Linked DNA regions of Homo sapiens: region 2 is linked to region 1. The links are contacts of gene promoters, found by promoter capture Hi-C in blood cells and fetal thymus (Javierre and others, 2016). All regions are on one chromosome and are shown on one strand. Each heading gives the region's core, a stretch centred on a gene start or on the middle of the fragment in contact. The rest is flanking DNA. Distances are from core to core; before and after follow the strand shown.

Region 1 (7,115 bases), core at 2,778-5,277:
CTATCTGCAGGAGCCACTGACTCATTTGAAACCCCCAACCACGCTGCGACCGTACACCCCCGTGGCTTTCCAGAGCAGGTGGTCTCTACCTGACGTTATTTCACTGGCTGACTTGGCTCATGGCTCATCCCCCATGCCTACTGGATGTCTGCCTCAGGAGGACAGGGGTGCTATCCCCCCTACCCCGGCCAGGCCCTGATGGGAGCCAGATGTGCACTGACTCAATGATCCACCAATCCCGGGGGCCAACCCAGAGGACAGTGGTGTCCTGGAGCAGGGAGGCGGCCTAGATAGCTTTGTGGGGGTCCTGAGGAGGCCCCAACACAGGAGTCCAGGGCGGGAAAGACAAGCCGCCTCCTCGGACTAACGCCCGCCCACCCCGATTCCCCGCCAAAACCCAGAGGTAGCAGCTGACTCCTCGGGCTCCCGGCTGGCGTCACCGCCTCTGGAGCCAATGGGCTCTGACGTGGCGAGCCTGGAACGCCACTGGGACTGCGCGGGCGTCCACACCACCCACCGAGCGCGGCCACCGCGTTGGCGGCATGAGCGCGCTCGAGCCTCCCCCAGCGGCGCCCGCCTCGCCCCCCGGGCCGGGTCTGGCGCACCCGGAACCCCCCGGGGCCCTGCGCGCCCTGCTCTTGGCCACCGGCGGCGCTGGGGGCTCGTGGCCTCGCTGCATTCTGCCGTTCGGTGCCGTGGCCGTGCTGGCTGGTGCGGCTGCCACGGCCATCACCTTCTCGCTGCGGGGACCCCGCCTGGACCTGGCCCAGGGCTCGTCGCTGGCCGCGCTCAGTGCGGGCCTGGGGCTTCTGACCGCCGCCTTCCTGTGCTGGCGCGCTCGGCGGAGGCGAAGGGCCGGGCGCAGGGAGCCGGGGGCGCCCTGAGCCGCGGGCGAGGCCCCCTCCCATCGAGGTCACCGCGAGCCGGCCGCCCCTCCCTCCAACCTCGCCCCGGCCGGGCGGGCGCAGTGCCAAGCGTGGTCGCAGAGGCCGCCCCCCACACCCCATCCCCAAATCGTTTCTTCTGGAACCCTTTGGGCAGAGAAGGCCACCGGCCGTTTCCCTCCCTCCCTCTCTGCTTTCCCTCTCTTCCCTCCTCCGTCCAACGTCGCATTTCAGCTTTTGACTTGGCGCGCAGAGCTGGCGCGACCGCAGAGCGGCCTGGCTGGGCAGCGGTCTGCGAGGCTGGGGGATCGACCCGGCGCGAGGGTGCTGGGTGCAGGGCAGCGCGACGCGGGCTCGGCCACACCACCCGCCGTTGGGAGCCGGCGCTGTGTCTGCTCCTGGGCTGTCTGCCTTCGGAGCTCGGTTGGAAACCCCCCGAGGCATAATAGGCGCTCGATAAATGTGCAATAGGTGAACATGTGGTGGCTTGCAGGCGTCTGGGGGGAGACAGCAGGTTCTGGGCTGGGCAGGGAATTATTGGATCAACGGGCATCTTACAGGAAAGACTCTCAGCTCCCTGCCGCCTAGGACTGTCCAGCCCATCTATGCCCTCTCCCCAGCCTGTGCCCCAAAGCTGGAGCTGCCACTCTAGGGGTGAGGGGTGGGGTGGGGAGGGGGAGGCGAAGCACTGCGGCCTGAGTTGCAGGTGGGGGGAGGGGAGGCGGAGCTTCTTTGTTGCAGAAGGTGCCAGGAGGGGGCAGGGCCAGTGGAGAGGTGGGAGGTGGGAGAGGCCCCAGCCAGGGGCTGGGACAGGTGGCTGGGTCCCTGGGGAGCAATAAGTCCCGCTTGGGCGCTGTGGGGAGGCCCTTCCTAACTCCCAAACACCATCTGTGAGGGCTGGGGGTGGGGGCAGAGTAGCGTGTGCAGAGGACTGTTCCTGGGGAGAGGCCCTGTGACCAGCGGCCTCCTCCCTGGGGAGCTGGCGGTACAATGGCCCTCTGGGCCCACGGCCTCCCGCCGCTGCTGCTGACCCAGATGAACAATTGGGGCAGGGCTGAGCCCCAGGCACCTACTTTCCCCCACCCCAGAAGCCACCAGACGTTCTGCAGACCCCAGTCCTGGCTCACAGGGAAGCTGAGCTGGAGACAAAGCCAGCCCCTCTGATGAGGGTGGAAGAGGCTGCTGGCCACTGTCCCTCTTGCAGCCTGGCTGGCAGCCAGTCTGGCAGTGGCCCTGACGTCCAGAGACAGCTTGGGTTTCCCCAGAGGCTTGTCTCTGGCCAGTGGGACCCCTCTGTCAGGCCTGGGCTTTTCTCTCCACTGTCCCAGAATGATGATCTCAGCCCCCATAGTCCCCCCAGGGTTCCTCCCACCCTTAGGGTGGGGTGTCGGGGGGTGGGGGTTGGGAGCCAGAAGGACCTTGAAGAGGGTGGTTGGGACGTTTCAGGTTCTAAGCTTGACCCACAGAGCGGAGCGTGAGCCCCGTCAGGTTGAGGTCCCTCAACTTGTAAAGGACACAATTCCCATTCTCTTTATCAGGAAGCTGAGGGGCAGGGGCCCTGTGGCAGAGAGAGAGCCCCTTAGCCCTCTCTGTTCAGTCCTCCGGTGCCCCCATCCCTGTGCATCTGTGGCTGTCACATGCAGATGTGTGGCAAGGAGAAGGTGCCCACCAGCCAGTGTCAGTTGCTCCAGGAGCCAAGCCAGGTGCCCTATCACCCTGTCTTCCCGTTCCTCCCCTCCATGGTCAGGCCCTCCTGCTCCCTCCTCTGGTCCTTCAGTTTCCCCTAGGAGGCTTCCGTGTCCTCCTGCCCCTCCTCTCCCCAACAGCGGGATGCGTCTACCTCTCCATTCTCTTCCTCCTGGTCCTTGCTCATCTCTGGTCGTGTCCAGGGTAGCACCCACGTGGCCTCCTCCACCAGCTGCAGGCCTGGCCTCCCATCTGAAACGGGGCATTCAGGCCTCGATGCTGGCCCTGCACGGAACTTGTTCCCTGCCCCTCCCTGGGATGCTTGGCCTCCTCTGTCAAGGACCTGAAAGTCGGAGGGGAGGAGGTTTCTCTGACCAGAGCTGTTCCTGGACCCTCTTTGGTGGTGTCGCTCCCAGGCACAGCTACCCCATCCCCAGCTAGTCCCCAGGCCACCCAGCTGGGCTTCTGCCTCAGTTTCCCTGCCCAAACGTGCTGTGACGTAGGGCAGTGGGCTCCGGGTTGCGACCAGCCCCTTCCCATGATTAAACCCTACTCCCTGCCCCTGCAGAGGGGTCCTCAACAGCTAACCAAGCCCCCGAACCCCAAGAAGCCACCCCATCCCACCCTCCAGCTTCCATGTCCTCCCTGCCAGCTGGGCCCGTGGCAGAGGTGCCCCTAGAAACTTGCAGACCCAGGGAGCTTTGGGATCAGAATCTGGCCTGGTGCAGGGGATGCTGGCCTCATGTCTTAGCCCAGCTCAGGCCCATGGGGGTGCCCCCCTTCCTCAACATGGGCAGGAGACACTCCAATTTGTGCAGCTCTCGACTTGGGCCTGATGCCACTTGAGACTCATCAAATCCAACAGCTTCAGAGCGCGTGCTGAGTAACAGGCATCTGGCAGGTGAGGAAACAGGAGCCCAAGACATGCAGCCAGAAATGGGGCAGTTGGATTCAAAATTAGACCTGACCGAATCCTGGGTTCCTTCTACTCGAGTAGATGCTGCTTTGGGGATGACCCTTCAACTGGTGGTTACTTGGCTTCCCTACCTGGGGAACATCCAGGGCCTCTGCTGTCAGACCCGGGGCCTTGCCTGCCTGATGGTCTTCAGGGAGGAGGCGACCCAGACCCCCGTCCAGCACGTGGCACAGCCCCAGGAGCAGTAAAGACCTGGCTGTGGGCCCAGGACCCTGCTGGGTGGTCCCCCACGGGCTGCGAAGGCTGAGCTGCCCCCCTCCAGACCCCTCCCGCCAGCGCATTCCTGGCTCCCCGGCCCCTCCCCTGGCTCCCGGGCCTCCCAGCCCCCTTCCCCGCTGGCCCAGCCCGCGTCTGAATCTGCTTCTGATTCCAGCTCTGCGATGAGGCCCCCTCCCCTCCCCTGCCTCCTTCCCGACCCGAGCAGCCCCGCCCCCGGCTGGGCCCGGGCTTGCGCCTGCTGCGCCCCCCACCCCCTCCTGGCACAGCTCGTCCGCCCTCGCTGCAGCCGGGAGGAGGCGGCGGCCCGTGCACCGCAGGCCCCGCCCGCCCACGGCCCTTCCCGGGAGGCCGGGAGACCTGCTCCGCCCGGCCCTCGGTGGGTGAGTGCGAGCGGCGGGTGGGGCCTCCGCGGGCGGAGGCACCGGGAGCGGGGGCGACGCCTGTCATCGCTCTAGGCCCAGCGGGAGGACGCGCCAACATCCCCGCTGCTGTGCTGGGCCCGGGGCGTGCCCGCCGCTGCTCCCACCTCTGGGCCGGGCTGGGGCCGCCCGGGGGCCCTGTTCCTCGGCATTGCGGGCCTGGTGGGCAGAGCCGCGGAGAGGGCTTCTTTTCCCCAAGGGCAGCGTCTTGGGGCCCGGCCACTGGCTGACCCGCAGCGGCTCCGGCCATGCCTGGCTGGCCCTGGGGGCTGCTGCTGACGGCAGGCACGCTCTTCGCCGCCCTGAGTCCTGGGCCGCCGGCGCCCGCCGACCCCTGCCACGATGAGGGGGGTGCGCCCCGCGGCTGCGTGCCAGGACTGGTGAACGCCGCCCTGGGCCGCGAGGTGCTGGCTTCCAGCACGTGCGGGCGGCCGGCCACTCGGGCCTGCGACGCCTCCGACCCGCGACGGGCACACTCCCCCGCCCTCCTTACTTCCCCAGGGGGCACGGCCAGCCCTCTGTGCTGGCGCTCGGAGTCCCTGCCTCGGGCGCCCCTCAACGTGACTCTCACGGTGCCCCTGGGCAAGGCTTTTGAGCTGGTCTTCGTGAGCCTGCGCTTCTGCTCAGCTCCCCCAGCCTCCGTGGCCCTGCTCAAGTCTCAGGACCATGGCCGCAGCTGGGCCCCGCTGGGCTTCTTCTCCTCCCACTGTGACCTGGACTATGGCCGTCTGCCTGCCCCTGCCAATGGCCCAGCTGGCCCAGGGCCTGAGGCCCTGTGCTTCCCCGCACCCCTGGCCCAGCCTGATGGCAGCGGCCTTCTGGCCTTCAGCATGCAGGACAGCAGCCCCCCAGGCCTGGACCTGGACAGCAGCCCAGTGCTCCAAGACTGGGTGACCGCCACCGACGTCCGTGTAGTGCTCACAAGGCCTAGCACGGCAGGTGACCCCAGGGACATGGAGGCCGTCGTCCCTTACTCCTACGCAGCCACCGACCTCCAGGTGGGCGGGCGCTGCAAGTGCAATGGACATGCCTCACGGTGCCTGCTGGACACACAGGGCCACCTGATCTGCGACTGTCGGCATGGCACCGAGGGCCCTGACTGCGGCCGCTGCAAGCCCTTCTACTGCGACAGGCCATGGCAGCGGGCCACTGCCCGGGAATCCCACGCCTGCCTCGGTGAGGCCTTGGAGGGTGGCCTGGGGACCTTGGACACAACCAGCCTGCCCCTGACCCATCCCTCCCTGCAGCTTGCTCCTGCAACGGCCATGCCCGCCGCTGCCGCTTCAACATGGAGCTGTACCGACTGTCCGGCCGCCGCAGCGGGGGTGTCTGTCTCAACTGCCGGCACAACACCGCCGGCCGCCACTGCCACTACTGCCGGGAGGGCTTCTATCGAGACCCTGGCCGTGCCCTGAGTGACCGTCGGGCTTGCAGGGGTGAGCCACCACCGGCCACCTGCAGGCCCTCACCCTCTGACTTCCCAGATCCCCAGACAGGCTTCTGACCAGGCCCTTCCCACCTCTGTCCTCAGCCTGCGACTGTCACCCGGTTGGTGCTGCTGGCAAGACCTGCAACCAGACCACAGGCCAGTGTCCCTGCAAGGATGGCGTCACTGGCCTCACCTGCAACCGCTGCGCGCCTGGCTTCCAGCAAAGCCGCTCCCCAGTGGCGCCCTGTGTTAGTGAGTGACCCTGCCCCGCCTCAGCCACCAAGCCAAGGCCACCCCAGCTCCCTGCTGTTGTCCCGTCTATTCCCCGAGCCCTGCAGATCTCTCTGCCCCTCCATCGCAGGCCATTCTCCCTCCCTCTCTGCAGAGACCCCTATCCCTGGACCCACTGAGGACAGCAGCCCTGTGCAGCCCCAGGGTGAGTGGACACAGGACAGGGCCCCAGACTGGCATGACTTTGGGGGAGGGGGCTCTGGGAGGAGAGGGTGGGGAAAGGGAGTCTGTGCCAGCCTCCCACCTTCTACCCAGACTGTGACTCGCACTGCAAACCTGCCCGTGGCAGCTACCGCATCAGCCTAAAGAAGTTCTGCAAGAAGGACTATGGTAGGTGCCCTCAGGCCTCCCGCGGACCTTCCCACCTTCCTCCTCTCCCTACCTTCCCTCCTCCGCCAGCTTCCCCTTGGAACGCCTTGACCCTTGCTGGGCCCCAAGGCCCATCCTCATCCCTCAGGTCCTCCACGGGCAGCGACCCCGCCCCTTCAGCCCCCACTGCCCTCCTGGTGTCCTCCCCGTGCCTCCCCCTACCGCGGGCAGGCCGCCCCTTCCTGACCCCGCCCCCTCTCGCTCTCCCCGCAGCGGTGCAGGTGGCGGTGGGTGCGCGCGGCGAGGCGCGCGGCGCGTGGACACGCTTCCCGGTGGCGGTGCTCGCCGTGTTCCGGAGCGGAGAGGAGCGCGCGCGGCGCGGGAGTAGCGCGCTGTGGGTGCCCGCCGGGGATGCGGCCTGCGGCTGCCCGCGCCTGCTCCCCGGCCGCCGCTACCTCCTGCTGGGGGGCGGGCCTGGAGCCGCGGCTGGGGGCGCGGGGGGCCGGGGGCCCGGGCTCATCGCCGCCCGCGGAAGCCTCGTGCTACCCTGGAGGGACGCGTGGACGCGGCGCCTGCGGAGGCTGCAGCGACGCGAACGGCGGGGGCGCTGCAGCGCCGCCTGAGCCCGCCGGCTGGGCAGGGCGGCCGCTGCTCCCACATCTAGGCGCACGTTCACCCTGTGCCTTCGCCTGCCAAGGAGTCCTTGCTCGCGTCGCGCGTGTCGCCACCTGGGCCGCCGCCCCGTCCCCGCCGGCAGCTCCCTCGGTACCTCCCGTCTGGCCCTGGGGGGATGTGACCGGCGCAGCGACAGCCCGCCCCGCACAGAGGCAGATGATATGGCACACCCGGAGGACCCCATGGTCTCCCGCCCTCTGGCTGTCGGCCCTGTCCCAGGGGCACTG
Region 2 (7,115 bases), core at 3,594-6,093, 180 kb before region 1:
TGATCTGGAACTCCTGACCTCAAGTGATCCACCCACCTTGGCCTCTCAAAGTGCTGGGATTACAGGCATGAACCACCAAGGCTGGCAGAGGAGGTGATTTTTTAATATTATGTGAATTACATCACACACACACACACACACACACACACACACACACACACACCCCTTCCTAGAGCTCCCCGCCGATTAGGAAACACAACTGAGGCTGCAGCAGGCAGGAGGCACCCCCCGGCTGGCTTAGCAACATTGTCAGGCCACACTTGGAGCCCGTGTGAGCCCTGTCTGCCTGCTTCTTGCTCCTGTGTGCAGGCTGCCGTGAGGCCTAAGTACCTGCTCCTCTGGCCCTTGGCAGAGCCCTTCTCCCTCACTGGATTCTCCCAGTCCCACTCATCTTTCATGATCTGCTCAGAGACACCAAGTGTTGCCATCTCGTCAGTATTCCCTCTGATTAAAAGCCTTCCTGCCCATGGTCTGAGCTCCGGTGGGCGCTTACCAGCCTGGCTAGCTCTCCCCAGGTCCTAGACAAACCAGGAAAAGCTTCTGATTATTTTTCTCTTGAGACCAGGAGCTCAGAGAGGCCAGGGTCAGGTGTGGGGCCTGGAGCTGAGTCACAGGTGGGCCGTGTGGTGAGTATGAGATGGGGCCAGAGAGGCCTGAGACCTTGAGAGACAAGAGGCCCTGTGGCTGCTGAGACGCAGCAGGATCAACCCGGGTTCTACCCTCAGAGCCGGCTGACTCCAGGCCAGCCCGTGGTTTCTTTCTGTTATGTTCATGCTTCCTTCCTTCCTTCAACCAGGATTCACAGAATCAGTCAGTCAGTGCTCGGTCCTGTGTGGGACACAGGTCAGCGGGCAGTCCCTCCCTCCCTCCGCCGCCTTGCCTGGCCTTTTTCCCTGGGTCTGTTCCTGGACACATGGTCCCCTGCACAGGTGTCCCCAGAGCATGCACCACCATGTCCTGCATGTATGATCACCTATTCTGTCGCCTCCTCTAGGCTGTGGGCTCCCTAAGGAGGAAAACCTATCTCACGTTTTTTTCTTTTTCTTTTGACACAGGGTTTTGCTCTGTCCCCCAGGGTGGAGTGCAGTGGCACAATCTCAGCTCACTGCAACCTCCACTTCCCAGGTTCAATTGATTCTCCTGCCTCAGCCTCCCAAGTAGCTGAGATTACAGGTGTGTGCCACCATGCCCGGCTAATTTTTGTAGTTTTAGTAGAGATGGTGGCTGGGGGTGGTGGCTCACGCCTGTAATCCCAGCACAGATCTTCAGGTGGGTCACCTGAGGTCAGGAGTTCCAGACCAGCATGGCAAAACCCCATCTCTGTTAAAAATACAAAAAAACTAGCTGGGCGTAATGACGTGCGCCTGCAGTCCCAGCTACTGAGGCTGAGGCAGGAGAATCGCTTGAATCTGGGAGGCAGAGGTTGCAGTGAGCTGAGATTGCACCACTGCACTCCAGCCTGGGAGACAGAGTGAGACTCTGTCTCAAAAAAAAAGAGATGGGATTTCACCATGTTGACCAGGCTAGTCTCAAACTCCTTGGCTCAAGTGATCGCCTGCCTCGGCCTCCCAAAGTGCTGGGATGACAGGCGTGAGCCACCACGCCCAGCCCCCATGCAGTTCTGAGGGTCTGGATGAGATAGTTCCCATCTTCATTAACGACACAGGTATCTCCCAAGGACGATCTAAGCCCAAGAAGAGCTGGGCACGCCTCTGACGCCGTGTGCCAGCTAGACCCGTGGCGGGTCTAGGAGGGACCCCAAGGCAGTGCAGGCCCCTCACGTGTGCCGCCGTTTCCCACGCACACCAATGTTGCTGACAGTCACAATCTGCACTTGGGGCTCTGACGGCGGCCACTGCCCGCCCCACCCCAGGCTGTTCCTCCAGCCTCACGTGGGCATTTGAGATCATAACCGAGGTGACTGTTTATCACTGCACTTTTTAGAAGTCCTCGGCTGAGCACGGTGCCTCACGCCTGTAATACCAGCACTTTGGGAGGCCAAGGTGGGCGGATCACCTGAGGTCAGGAGTTTGAGACCAGCCTGACCAACATGGAGAAAACCCATCTCTACTAAAAATACAAAATTAGCTGGGTGTGGTGGCACATGCCTGTAATCCCAGCTACTCGGGAGGCTGAGGCAGGAGAATCTCTTGAACCCAGGAGGCGGAGGTTGCGGTGAGCCGAGATCGCACCACTGCACTCCAGCCTGGGCAACTAGAGTGAAACTCCATCTCAAAAAAAAAAAGTCCTCTGCAGCACGGAGCCCAGTCCTAGGTGGACGGAAATGCGCATTTACTGACCGAAGGAAGACTTCCTCCATGGTGGTGATGGATGCCCCAAAGCTGGCAATGCCCAGCTCTTTCTGCTTCTTCTCCAGTTTAGCAAAGAGACCTTCAAACCTGAAAAACAGACCCAGCATTATGAGTCACTTCTCAGTGACTTTCTAGATAATTTGTTCCTAAAGCATCACCCCCCCTCGGCCAGGCACAGTGCCTCACACCTGTAACCCCAGCACTTTGGGACGCCAAGGCGGGCGGATCACCTGAGATCAGGAGTTCGATACCAGTCTAGTCAACATGGTGAAACCTGTCGCTATTAAAAACATAAAAAATTAGCCACGTGTGGTAGCAGGTGCCTGTAGTCCCAGCTACTCAGAAGGCAGAGGCAGGAGAACACTTGAACCCAGGAGGTGGAGGCTGCAGTGAACCGAGATTGCGCTACTGCACTCCAGCCTGGGTGGCAGAGTGAAACTCTGTCTCAAAAAAATAAATAAATAAATAAAATTAAAAAAATAAGGAGGCCAGGTGCAGTATCTCACACCTGTAATCCTAGCACTTTGGGAGGCCGAGGTGGGCGAATTGCCTGAACTCAGGAGTTCGAGACCAGCCTGAGCAACACGGTGAAACTCTGTCTCTACTAAAATAAATAAAACAAAACAAAACAACAAACAACAACAACAACAAAAACTACCCAGTCATGGCGGCTTGTGCCTGTAATCCCAGCTACTCGGGAGGCTGAGGCAGGAGAATTGCTTGAACCCGGGAGGCGGAGGTTGCGGTGAGCTGAGATCGCACCACTGGACTCCAGCCCGGGCAACAGAGCAAGACTCCGTCTCCAAAAACTAAACTAAACTAAACTAAAATGAATCACCCCCCTAATCCCCCTATAGAATGGGGCAGGGGCCACAGGAGGTTAATTCCTTGAAATACCTTTTTTTTTCTTTTTTTCTTTAGATGGAGTTTTGCTCTGTCACCCAGGCTGCAGTGCAGTGGCACAGTCTCGGCTCACTGCAAGCTCCGCCTCCCAGGTTCATGGCATTCTCCTGCCTCAACCTCCAGAGTAGCTGGGACTATAGGCGCCCGCCACCACACCCAGCTAATTTTTTGTATTTTTAGTAGAGATGGGGTTTCACCGTGTTAGCCAGGATGGTCTTGATCTCCTGACCCTGTGATCCACCTGCCCTGACCTCCCAAAGTGCTGGGATTACAGGCAATGAGCTACCAAGCTACCGTGCCTGGCCAAAATGCCTTTTTTTTTTTTTTTTTTTTTGGAGACAGGGTCTTGGTCTGTCACTCAGGCTGGAGTGCAGTGGTATAATCTCGGCTCACTGAAGCCTTGACCTCCCGGGCTCAAGCAATCCTCTCACCTCAGCCTCCCAAGTGTCTGGGGCTACAGGTGTGCACAACTACACGTGGCTAAGTTTTTTTTTTTTTTTTGAGACTGAGTCTTGCTCTGTCACCCAGGCTGGAGTGCGGTGGCGCGATCTTGGCTCACTGCAAGATCTGCCTCCCGGCTTCATGCCATTCTCTTGCCTCAGCCTCCCGAGTAGCTGGGACTACAGGTGCCCGCCACCACGCCCGGCTAATTTTGTTTTTGTATTTTTAGTAGAGATGGGGTTTCACCATGTTAGCCAGGATGGTCTCGATCTCCTGACCTCGTGATCCACCCGCTTCGGCCTCCAAGTGCTGGGATTACAGGTGTGAGCCACCGTGCCTGGCCATGTGGCTAATTTTTAATTTTTTTGTAGAGATGGGGTCTCACTATGTCGCCCAAGCTGATCTCCTTCTCCTTCTGCCTTGGCTTCTGAAAGTGTTGGGATTACAGGCATGAGCAACCATGCCTGGCTAAAAGTGAGGTTCATATGGTTTGATTCCCTGGTTTTTTCTTTCTTTTTTTTTTTTTGAGATGGAGTCTCCCTCTGTCACCCAGGCTGGAATCCAGGGGTGCAGGGGTGCAGGGGTGTGATTTCGGCTCACTGCAACCTCTGCTCCTGGGTTCAGTGATTCTCCTGCCTCAGCCTCCTGAGTAGCTGGGATTACAGGCACCCACCACCACGCCCGGCTAATTTTTGTATTTTTTTTTTTTTTTAGTAGAGACGAGGTTTCACCGTGTTGGCCAGGATGGTCTCGATCTCCTGACCTCATGGTCCGCCCGCCTTGGCCTCCCAAAGTGCTGGGATTACAGGCGTGCGCCACTATGCACAGCTGCGAAACACTTTCTAAGAATAAAATTAATAGAAGAAGTCACAAGAGAAAGGATGTTGCTACATTAAGTACAAAATCTAGGCCGGGTGCAGTGGCTCACACCTGGAATCCCAGAACTTTGGGAGGCTGAGGCGGAAGGATCACTTAAGCCCAGGAGTTCAAGACCAGCTTGGGCAACATAACAAGACCCCATCTCTACAAAAAAAATAAAAAAACTAGCCGGACATGTTGATACACACCTGTAGTCCCAACTATTCGGGAGGCTGAGGTGGGAGATCACGAGCCCAGGAATTCAAGGCTGCAGTGAGTTGTGATTGCACCACTGCACTCCAGCCTGGGTGACAGAGCAAGACCTTGTTTTTAAAATAAACAAATGTGGCCAGGCATGGTGGCTCATGCCTGACATCTTAGCACTTTGGGAGGCCGAGGTGGGTGGATCACCTGAGGTCAGGAGTTTGAGACCAGCCTGGACAACATGGTAAAACCCCATCTCTACTAAAAATACAAAAATTAGCCGGGTGTGGTGGTGCACGCCTGTAATCCCAGCTACTTGGGAGGCTGAGGCAGGAGAATTGCTTGAACCTGGGAGGCAGAGGTTGCAGTGAGCTGAGATTGTGCCACTGCACTCTGGACTGGGCAGCAGAGTGAGGCTCCATCTCAAAACAAATAATAAATAAATAACAAATAAAATAAATAAATGTAAAATGGAAAAAAATCTGACAAAATCAAACAACAAACTGGAGAAAAGTGCAATAAACTGATATTATCCAGATAATATCCAGACTGATAGATAGTGTCATGGAACACTGGCTTCCCTCCCCTTGCTGGTTCTGCCGTGTGTGTGAGACAGTGATGAGCAGGTGGTAACATCTCCAGCTCTGACACTGAGACCAAATTCACCACCCACATACAAATACAGACTCGGTTTCACGAGTAGTTCTGAGTGCAGCCGCAGCACGTGTTGAGCCTGGTGTCAGAAGGGGGAGTGTGAGCCCTGCATCAGCGCTGAGCACCCTTTTGGTGAGTCAGATACGTGCTTCTCCTTTTCAGGTCCTAATTATGTTTCTCCTTGCTAGGAGGCCTGGCACCTAGGACCCAGCCAAGCAGATTCATCTGGGCTGATGGTGCCCAGGCTGAGGGTCTAAGAGTGCCGACTGGCCAGGCCAGAGAGGGGCAGAGCAGGTGCCTCTGAGCACAAAGCCCTCATGGCCCATGGGGATCCCATCTTGGATGTATACCTGTGCGTGCCCTCCCTGGGAGGCGTACCTGTGCGTGCTCTCTCTGGGAAGGATGAAAGACAGCTCGGCCCCAGCGCTGCTCTCCAGCGTGGCGTTGGGCACGTGGTGGTGGACCAGCTGGGAGATGTCTTCCGGGTTGCAGTGCGGCTCCTTCACCAGCGTCATGTGATAGCCGGCACCTGGAATACAGGGCCACGTGTGAGATCTTTGGCTGATCCCCCAGGTCTCTTCATGCCCACCCCGGGGTCTCTAGGGCTCACACCAGGCAAGCTGGTGGGAAGGAGGCTAGAGAACCGGAGGTGGGCAGCTGAAGCAGAATGAATGTGTCTTGGAGCTCCCTGTGCTGTCCCAAGGGTGTCACCTCCCGCTCCTGCTGGGAAGAGCTGCTGGGGATCTAGGGTGCTGAGCACTGTCAGGGGCACCTGCTGGAAGGTGGGGTCTCCCCCCAGCTATACAAGCACCAGGGAAGGATATCATCAGCAGCGACGGACCACGTGTGAGGGCTTCTGTCTTGTGGGGTTAACACTGATGGTTATGGTGTGGTTCTAGGAAGGGACTGTCAGCAGGAGCAGGAGCAAGAGCTACCGGCTGCAAGACCGCACTGCACGGCACTATCAGAGATGCATCTCACCTCTTTCCCAACGTCACCGTGCAGGAGATGGAATTCCATGTCCTTTTTTTTTTTTTTGAGACAAGTCTCACTCTGTCACCCAGGCTGGAGTGCAGCTGCACAATCTTGGCTCACTGTAACTTCTCCCTCCTTGGTTCAAGTACTTATTCTCCTGCCTCAGCCTCCCCAAGTAGCTGGGATTACAGGCATGCACCACCATACCTGGTTAAGTTTTTGTATTTTAGTAGAGACAGAGTTTTACCATGTTGGCCAGGCTGGTCTTGAACTCCTGACCTCAAGTGATCTGCCTGCCTTGGCCTCCCAAAGTGCTGGGATTATAGGCGGTGAGCCACCACGCCTGGCCCCATGTCCTCTTTAGAGACAAGGATGCCAGGCCCAGGAAGAACAATGGCTCTGCCAACTGGGCAGTGGGGCAGGAAGTGGCTAGTGAAACTCTCAGAGGCCGTGGTGGATGGTTCCTCATCTCCTAACGCCTGCTGTCCTCCCTCTTGGTAACAAAACCCTGGTATCTTGGCTGAGCATGTGGCTGCCCAGGACAAAGGCCATCCCCTCCAGCCTACTGCTGACCACACTGGGTTGCCACTCAGTCACTAGGGGGCAGAAGTGGGACGTGAACTTGGGGGGTGTCCTGAGGGGAGGAGGGCTCCTATGTCTTTGCTCCACCCCGTTGGAATGTGGGGGACGCTGGCACACCCAGATCGTGCTGGACCAGGAGGTGACCTTGAAAGGGAAGCCGTAGTTGCACAGTACAGTCAGAGGTCT

The links. Contacts are between HindIII fragments. The CHiCAGO score rates a contact against its expected background, and 5 or more counts as called.
Region 2: a fragment that was not itself captured here is called in contact with the fragment with the promoter of NTN3 in region 1 in 1 of 17 cell types (endothelial precursors); the score reaches 5.3 in endothelial precursors.

Annotation. Positions count from the first base shown.
Region 1 is chr16:2,467,270-2,474,384 of GRCh38, forward strand. It overlaps NTN3 (netrin 3), which reads left to right and starts at 4,028. Exons shown (of 6, transcript NM_006181.3): 1 at 4,028-5,360; 2 at 5,432-5,620; 3 at 5,716-5,865; 4 at 5,999-6,049; 5 at 6,160-6,234; 6 at 6,487-6,876. The coding sequence starts at 4,433. The coding sequence ends at 6,836. TEDC2-AS1 (TEDC2 antisense RNA 1) reads right to left here and starts at 944. Exons shown (of 1, transcript NR_135198.1): 1 at 1-944. RefSeq lists silencers at 393-442, 503-842, 853-902, 4,166-4,305, 6,460-6,609 and 2 more and enhancers at 1,350-1,893, 1,853-1,992, 2,153-2,232. The HindIII fragment of the contact is 14,643 bases long and covers 2,337-7,115 here.
Region 2 is chr16:2,289,840-2,296,954 of GRCh38, forward strand. It overlaps ABCA3 (ATP binding cassette subfamily A member 3), which reads right to left. Exons shown (of 33, transcript NM_001089.3): 18 at 5,751-5,901; 19 at 2,301-2,399. Among named protein-coding and RNA genes, the nearest start is that of MIR4717, 19 kb to the left of the region's middle. The HindIII fragment of the contact is 8,617 bases long and covers 536-7,115 here.